Linked DNA regions of Homo sapiens: regions 1 and 3 are each linked to region 2. The links are contacts of gene promoters, found by promoter capture Hi-C in blood cells and fetal thymus (Javierre and others, 2016). All regions are on one chromosome and are shown on one strand. The core of a region is centred on a gene start or on the middle of the fragment in contact, and the rest is flanking DNA. Distances in the headings are between cores, read along the strand shown. Region 1 has its middle 86 kb from the start of FLJ13224. Region 2 holds the start of TSPAN11 (tetraspanin 11). Region 3 has its middle 56 kb from the start of FLJ13224.

What was found. Contacts are between HindIII fragments. The CHiCAGO score rates a contact against its expected background, and 5 or more counts as called.
Region 1: a fragment that was not itself captured here is called in contact with the fragment with the promoter of TSPAN11 in region 2 in 1 of 17 cell types (fetal thymus); the score reaches 6.0 in fetal thymus.
Region 3: a fragment that was not itself captured here is called in contact with the fragment with the promoter of TSPAN11 in region 2 in 1 of 17 cell types (fetal thymus); the score reaches 5.0 in fetal thymus.

The regions. Positions count from the first base shown.
Region 1 is chr12:31,237,293-31,239,992 of GRCh38, reverse strand. No RefSeq gene overlaps it. Among named protein-coding and RNA genes, the nearest start is that of FLJ13224, 86 kb to the left of the region's middle. The HindIII fragment of the contact is 6,965 bases long and covers 1-2,700 here.
Region 2 is chr12:30,925,411-30,928,110 of GRCh38, reverse strand. It overlaps TSPAN11 (tetraspanin 11), which reads right to left and starts at 1,363. Exons shown (of 8, transcript NM_001370302.1): 1 at 1,315-1,363. LOC124902911 (a long non-coding RNA gene) reads left to right here and starts at 1,422. Exons shown (of 2, transcript XR_007063264.1): 1 at 1,422-2,700. The HindIII fragment of the contact is 3,619 bases long and covers 1-2,700 here.
Region 3 is chr12:31,266,649-31,269,348 of GRCh38, reverse strand. No RefSeq gene overlaps it. Among named protein-coding and RNA genes, the nearest start is that of FLJ13224, 56 kb to the left of the region's middle. The HindIII fragment of the contact is 8,159 bases long and covers 1-2,700 here.

The DNA.
Region 1 (2,700 bases), core at 197-2,696, 310 kb before region 2:
CTGGAGCATTGCTTGAGCCCAGGAGTTTGAGACCAGCCTAGGCAGCATAGTGAGACTTCATTCCTATTAAAAAAAAAATTAGCCAGACATGGTGCGTGCCTGTAGCCCCAGCTACTTGGGAGGTTGAGGTGGGAGGATCCTGTGAGCCCAGAAGGTCGAGGCTGCTGTGAGCTGTGATTATACCACTGCACTCCAGCCTGGGTGACAGAGTGGGACACTGTCTCAAAAAAAAGTGGCAATAAAGTGGCAATAAAGGCACTCTCGTTATCACTGTGTATGGGGAATGGAACCCCAAATCTGAGGAAAATTTCTTTCAGTAAGGCTTTTGAAACCCTCTCAGTGTGGCAGGGAAAGGCTTGCACCTGTCCAATAAATGTGTCCACCATGACTAACAACTAACTAAAATTTTCTTTAGCTCTTGGCTTTACGTTAAAGATCCAAATCCTGGCTACCATTCCCCAGGTCCTAGGGAATATTATAGCCAGGAAGCATTGCAATAAAAAAAACTTTTTCTTTTTCACAAGCTCAAAGCTAAAAGCAGCCCAATTCTGCAGAATACATCCTACCGGGCCACAAGGAGGAATAGAGCACACATTTCCCATTTTAGATGACAACCTTAGGTGACAAACCCTTAATGCCTCAGCTGGGCTTTGAACTGTGTTTAAACCAAGTCAAACAATTTTAAACAAGTCCAAAAATTTTAAATGTGATTTCCCAAGGTCCCAGTCCCTTCAGCTGTCTATGGGGTATCTCCCACCCAACGCTCTGAAGAAGCAGAGCGTAATATCTTGCCCAAGCAATGCCAAGATGTCTTGCCAAAGTGGGACCAAATGTCTGAAGGAAAAATACCTTGAGGCCGTTGTCCATGAGCCTGCCACTTAACGGCAGACGTCTTCCCAGCCAAGTGCCTTGTTTTTAACACTGCAATAGTCATAGCACCCCACGGGCCAGTGGTGCCTGGTTATCAGCCAAACACACAGATCCCTGAATGAAATAATTCGGGCAGCCGCTAGATGGGGTCTGAGGGTGACTATGACTAGAGGCTGATGTGCCATAAGCGAGATGCCCACTTCGGACTTTTGTCCCTTCATGGTTGTTAATTGTTTTAGAACTGAACTAGGACCCTTACCAGGCACAATAAAACCAGATTTCTATACGGAGGCTTTGCAGAGATAGAAAGAAAAGCTAAGATCAGGGAAGGAGAGACCAAGGCAGGCTTTTTCATTAGCAATGGTGTTGAGCAGGCAGTTTGGGTAATTTCTTTTCTTTTTTTGAGATAGAGTTTCACTCTTGTTACCCAGGCTGGAGTGCAGTGGTGCGTGCTCGGCTCACTGCAACCTCTGCCTCCTGGGTTCAAGTGATTCTCCTGCCTCAGCCTCTCGAGGAGTTGGGACTATAGGTGTGCGCCACCACGGCTAGCTAATTTTTTGTATTTTTAGTAGAGACGGGGCTGGTCTTGAACTCCTGACCTCAGGTGAACCGCCCGCCTTGGCCTGCCAAAGTGCTGGGATTACAGGCGTGAGCCACTGCGCCTGGCCTGGGTAATTTTCTTCTATACCATCCCAGGTTTAAATTCTGGCCATCCTTCCCTGTCTAGCTGAAATTCCATGGTCTGAATGAAATTTTTGTGTCCCCACTTGCAGGCACCTTACCATCCTCTGAATTTCTCAAGTACACTTTATATCTGTGTTGTCTAAGCAGATGGTTCCTGTCTTTTTCCCTCAACCAGACCATCAGCCCTTTGACGGCTTTCTTTCTATTCTTTTTGACTCCCTTTGTGCCCTCCCCTATTCCCTGACCCACTCCATCCCGTACCAGGCACAGTAATAGATACTCAACAAATATGTCATTAAATTGACTAAACGATCCCCTGCAGCCACATGCACCTGCCTGTGAGCTGGGTGACAGGCTACTTTATTATCTTTCCCATTCTTTATCACATGCCCCCTCCAAAAACAACATTCTAAGTGCTGTATTTCTGGGAGGCTCAGAGACCATTTATTTATTTTTTTAAAGGTTTTTACCTGCATTGTGCAGTGGAGGGGCAAATTCTAGGCCAGACCTGTGGTCAGAGCAGAAACGTAGAGTGGTCTGTGCTGCTCTCAACACTCATTCCAGGATCAGCTGCTGATGGCTGTATCATCTCTGCTGCAAGGCTTTGAGAAGAGCTGTATTCGGGCAGCTCTACAGGAAAAAAAATGTGATCACAGTCTCCCAGGTTTTCTCAGGCAGCAGCAGAAGGTAGTAGCAAACAACCCAGACAGTGGTGACCTGTAGCTGTTTAGGGAAAAATATAGGTGAGTGAATGAAGGAATGAGTGGAAGGAAGGATGGATGAATGAACGAGATCACAAATGAACAGCATGCTGTAGTGGAAAGAAACCTGGAGACATGGGGTTGGCATCCTAACATTTTCCTTATCCTTTGTGTGATGTTGGAAAAATTGCCTGATGTCTTCTCAGTTTCCTCATCTGTAAAGTGGGGCAAAAGTACATACTCCTCAGGGTGGTTGAGAAGATCAAAGGAGATGATGTTTGTGAAAGTACCTACTTCCTTTGAGGCCATGTCTAACGTAACCAGGGTCTCAGTGGACACGTAAGACTGGGTGTGATGGGTACGTGTGTGTCTGTCCCCCACACGTGGGGTTTTAATTGAGTGGGTTTCAATGTGGAAGGTGCCCACTGCATCCTGTCTCCCACCC
Region 2 (2,700 bases), core at 114-2,613:
AGGTGGGTATAAAATTCCTGCTATGCTGAATATAGTGGGAAACAGCACACAAATGCCTCCCTCTGCTACCCACAAACCAAACAGCTCTGGGCCACCTAAGCCCTCGCCAGACCACCAACTTGGCCCCTGTAGGCCAGTAGTGCCCCTTACCCTAGGAGTCTTAACTATCATCAAAGCATTTCCAGGCATTAATTGGAGCCTCCAGTCCCTTGGGAGACAGATGGGGCCAGTGGTTATTAGTCCCATTTTGCACAAAAAGCAACTGAGCCCCAGATGACCTATCTGTCCAGGGAACAATGCTACTGACACAGTGACAACCATTAAGTTCTGATTCAAACCTGTCTCCAGCCTCTAACTGCTGCTTTCCACTGCAATCCAGCTGCCCACAAATTGAACACAGACTATCCACTTTGGCCTAATACCACCCTCATTCTCTTCTTCACGCTCCCCCACACACACCCTATGCCCCAGAGTGCACTTATGAGTTTTTCCAGAAGCTGCCTCTTCTCCTCACCCCCCACCCCCACGCTCACCTCACAATACTTGCCACGAACTGGAGACCTCTGGAACACTTATTCCTCCTGCACACAGCAGCTTAGACTCAAGTTAAGATGCTGTCCCGCCAAGCCCAACTGGGCTGCCTCCCTTTCATACTTTCCACCAATTCACACATGTGCACACTGCACATATGGCTGGTGAAAAGGATACACCCCAGAACCTTCCATGCCTTCTTTCCACACGGAGCCGGCCAACTGCACATGCAGGGATGGGCACGAAAACACAGGTGACAGGGCCTACACAGCCATGTTGTCACAAATACACAGACGTGCCCAGAACATGAGGACATCCCTGCACAGGCAGACAGGCCCTCTGAAAGCAATGTGCACCAGATACAGCATTTTGGTGTAGCCATGAGAGGCAGCTACTCGAATTCAGGGTGGACAAAGAATGACATTTTCAAGAGGAACAGACATGCCCCGGGCACGCTGGACGGCACGAGGCCCTCAGAGGCCCAGAGCTCTCTCCCAAGGCACAAGTGCAGAAAGGCAGACTCATGCGCATAGTTATGGACACCGTGTTGCGTGTCCCATGCAGACACCAATACCTGCTCACATGCCCCGCGAGTGTCCCAGGCATTCCTGCCTCCTCCACTCCTCATCCCCAGCCGGCTTCCCTCTGCCCGCCCGGGGGAAGCTCGGGACAGTCTAGCTCGGGACTGCCGGCGGGGCGGGCAGCGGAGGTGGAGGCGCCTCTCCTGGACCCCCAGCCCCCTCCCGCGGCGCCCCCACTCCTCGGGCGCGCTTCTGCACTTACCCTGCCAGGGGCTCCGGAAGCGGCGAAGGGAGCTGCGCCTAGAGAGACTGAGAGCGGCGGCTCCCGGGGCCGCCCAGCCGCCCACCGCCCGCAGCCAGCGCTCCTCCCTCCCAGCCCGGGAAGGTCAGCGTGTGGGCAGCCCGGCCCGCGCCCCTGCGCCCACTGAGGCTTCCTGCCGGCCCTCTAGTCCCCGCCTGCCCAGCGCTCGGCCGCGACGCCCCGGCGCCGGCTCTCCCAGCCCAGCCGGCAGGACGCGCCCGGGAGCCCCGCACGCGAGCTGCCGGCTCTTTGTTTGGGGGTTTGCCTCTCTGCGATTCAGAGCACGCGGAGGGAATTAAGTCAGAGTCCGAGGCAGCTGTGCGGTTGCCGGGGGGATCCCTAAGGGGGGCGGGGCAAAAGGACGGACTAGTAGGGCGGTGGAGCGGCTTTCAAACTCCCCGCGCTCCGCAGCTCCCCGCTTAGGTCTCCCTGCCCTTTACGTTTGTCGGCCCCTGGGAGAGGTTGGCCTTTGGGGGTTTCCAGGGACCCTAGGGACAAGCCTGTCTGATAAGAGAGAGGTTCTCCATCCCCCTTCCTCACCAGCCCCCATCACTGCCGTGTCCCTCTTAGAGTCCTGTGGAGCATCAGCTTTACATTTCCTGGGCCCCGGGGAGAATCAAGGTCTCTCTAATCTGAAGCAAAAAGGAATAACAGAGAGTAGAGCCCATCTGTTCCTGCTGAGTCCCTGTGAAGGTGCAAAGCTGGCCCTAACGGGACTGGCCCTAACAGTGGGGCATGGATTATCTATTTCCCAAAGTAACAAGGGCCTTGTGCTTATCCAACCGTGTTCTTTTGAAACTTAGCTGCAGTGAGGAAGATTACCCATTTACCAGGTTGCTAGATCAGGGAAGCCACTGGAGGCAGGGGACGCTGACAAAGCCACTGTACCGGGAGCACCAACGTTCTAAATACCCCAGCTGGCTGCTGAGAAGGGCTTCGCGGGGGGCCACACAGGAAGGAGATGATTCCAATAGTCCCGTGAGATGAGGACCTTAACTGGGGGATGAATGCGGAAGCTGCAGCAAAGGAGAGTCTACAGACTGTGTGGTGTAGGAGGAGCACACTGGGGCTGTAACATTGTGGAAGTCTGGAGGAGAACCTGGAGTGATGTGACTGAGTTTAGTGTGGAGCAAGTTGGATTGGAGAAGCAGGCCACCTTCTTCCAGGGGCAGATATCCAGCAAATGCAATTGGAAGGGTGATTCTGGAGTTCATAGGAGAGACTGAGGCAAGGGATGTCAATTTTGGAATCATCTGGAAAGAAGTTGGGCCGACACAAGAGGTGGAGGGAGAGGGTAGAAAAGGTACAGAGAACAGGGCTGAAGACAGAATCTAGGTCTACCGAGAA
Region 3 (2,700 bases), core at 186-2,685, 340 kb before region 2:
AGTCATTTGCTTACAAAGAAAAATATAATGTTTTGTTAAATACATGCACTCTTACTTCTTTTGTCCTCATTGATGATGGAACTGTGACTGGAATTAGAAATTCAGCTTCTGTGTTTAAAACTGGGCCTGGTGTGGTGGCTCACACCTGTAATCCCAGCACTTTGGGAGGCTAAAGTGGGAGGATTTCTTGAGGCCAGGAGTTTGAGACCAGCCTGGACAACATAGCAAGACCCTGTCTCTACAAAAAATAAAAAAACGTAGTTGAACATAGTGGCATGCACCTGTAGTTCTAGCTACTTGGGAGGTTGAGGTGGGAGGATTGCTTGAGTTCAGGATTTCTAGGCTGCAGTGAACTATGATCGTGCCACTGCACTCCAGCCTTGGAGATGCAGCAAGACTTGAGACTTTGTCTCTTAAAAAAAAAAAAACCCAAATCAAAACCACTCCTGAAGCATTATATGCCCACTTTTTAGGAATCTATCCAAAGTAGATACTTGAAGTATCACATGATATAAAAAAAATTTACTCAAAATGGATCAAAGACCTAAATGTAAGAGCTCATAAAACTCTTGAAGGGAACATAGGTATAAATATTTATGACCTTGGATTAGGTAACAGTTTCTTAAATATGACACCAAAAGTACAAATAACAAAAGAAAAAAAGATAAATTGGGCTTCATCAAAATTAAAAACTTTTGTGTATAAAGGACACTATCAAGAAAGTGAAGGGCCGGGCCTGGTGGCTCACAGCTGAAATCCCAACATTTTGGGAGGCCAAGGTAGGAGGATTGCTGGAGTCCAGGAGTTTGAGAGTTTGAGACTAGCCTAGGTAACATAGTAAGACCCCAACTCTATTTAAGAAAAGGTAAAAAAAAAAAAAAAAAGAAAAAAAGAAAAAGTGAAAACACAACTTATAGGATGGGAGAAAATATTTGTAAATTGTTTCTGTGATAAGGGCATACTATCCAGAATATATAAATAACTTTCATATGTCAACAATGAAAAGACAAACAATCCAATTAAAAATTGGGCAAAGGGCTGAGCATGGTGGCTCATGCCTGTAATCCCTGTACTTTGGGAGGCTGAGCGGGCAGATCATTTGAGGTCAGGAGTTCAGACTAGTCTGGTCAACATGGTGAAACCCCGTACCTACTAAAAAAAATACAAAAAAAATTAGCTGGATGTGGTTGTGCATGCCTGTAATCCCAGCTTCTCAAGAGGCTGAGTCAGGAGAATCCCTTGAATCTGGGAGAGAGAGGTTGCAGGGAGCCAAGATTGCACCACTGCACTACAGCCTGGGTGACAGAGTGAGGCTCCATCTCAAAAAAAAGAAAAAAAGGCCAGGCAAGGTGGCTCATGCCTGTAATCCAGCACTTTGGGAGGCTGAGGCAGGCAGATCACTTGAGGTCAGGAGTTCGAGACCATCCTGACCAACATGGTGAAACCCCATCTCTACTAAAAATACAAAAATTAGCCGAGCATGGTTGTGCATGCCTATAATCCCAGCTACTTGGGAGGCTGAGGCAGGAGAATGCTTGAACCTAGGAGGCAGAGGTTGTAGTGAGCTGAGATTGCACCATTGCACTCTAGCCTGGGCAACAGAGCGAGACTCCATCTCAAAAAAAAGAAAAGAAAAGAAAAAAGTTGGGCAGAGGATTTAAATAGCCATTTCTTCAATGAAGATATATAAATGGCCAATAAGCACATGAAAAGATGCTCACCTTCATTAGTTATTGAAGAAATGCAAATCAGAACCACACCTAATTGAATGGCAATAATAATAAGGAAAAGGAAAATAAGTATTGGCACAGATGGAAATTAGAACCCTAATGCATTGCTGGTAGGAATGGAAAATGGCACAGCTGCTGTGGAAAAGTTTGGTGGTTCCTCAAAATGTTAAACGTAGATTGAACCTGCAATTCCACTTCTAGCTGTATACCCAAGAGAACTGAAGACATATGCCCACATCAAAACTCGTCCAAAAATGTTCACAGCATCACTATTCACAACAGCCAAAAGGTAGAAACAACCCAATGTCCATCAACTGATGAATAGATAAACAAAATGTGGTAGTACATCCAAAGAGTGGAATACTAATTCAGGCATAAAAAATAGTTCAGCCAAAAAGGAATGAAGCACTGATATATGCTACAACATGGATGCATCTTGGAAATACTATATACTAAGTGAAACAAGCCAGACACAAAAGAACAAATGTGATATGATCCCATTTATATGAAATGTCCGGAATAGGCAAATCCATAGAGACGGAAACTAGATTAGTGGTTGCCAGGCAATGGGGGTAGGGAGGAATTGGGAACGACTGCTAATAGGTATGGAGTTTCTTTATGGGGAGATGGCAACGTTCTGGAATTAGTGGTGATGTTTGTACAACCTTATGAGTATACACAAAACACTGAACTGTACACTTGAACGTGGTTAAAATGTTAAATTTTGGGTTTTATGCATTTTATCTCAGAATATTGCAAACAAAGATTTAGCTACAAGGATGTTCACTAAATTGTTTCTCATATAGAAAAAAAGGAAGAGAAAAAACTGAAGGGTTCAGTAGCGTATTACTTGAATAAATTGTGCTAGAGTTGTATGTACACATTTGTAGAAATGAACTTATTGATGTGAAAAGATGTTTATGATATCAAGTGAAGAAAAACCAGTTCTAAGGTAATATTTAAGGAATTA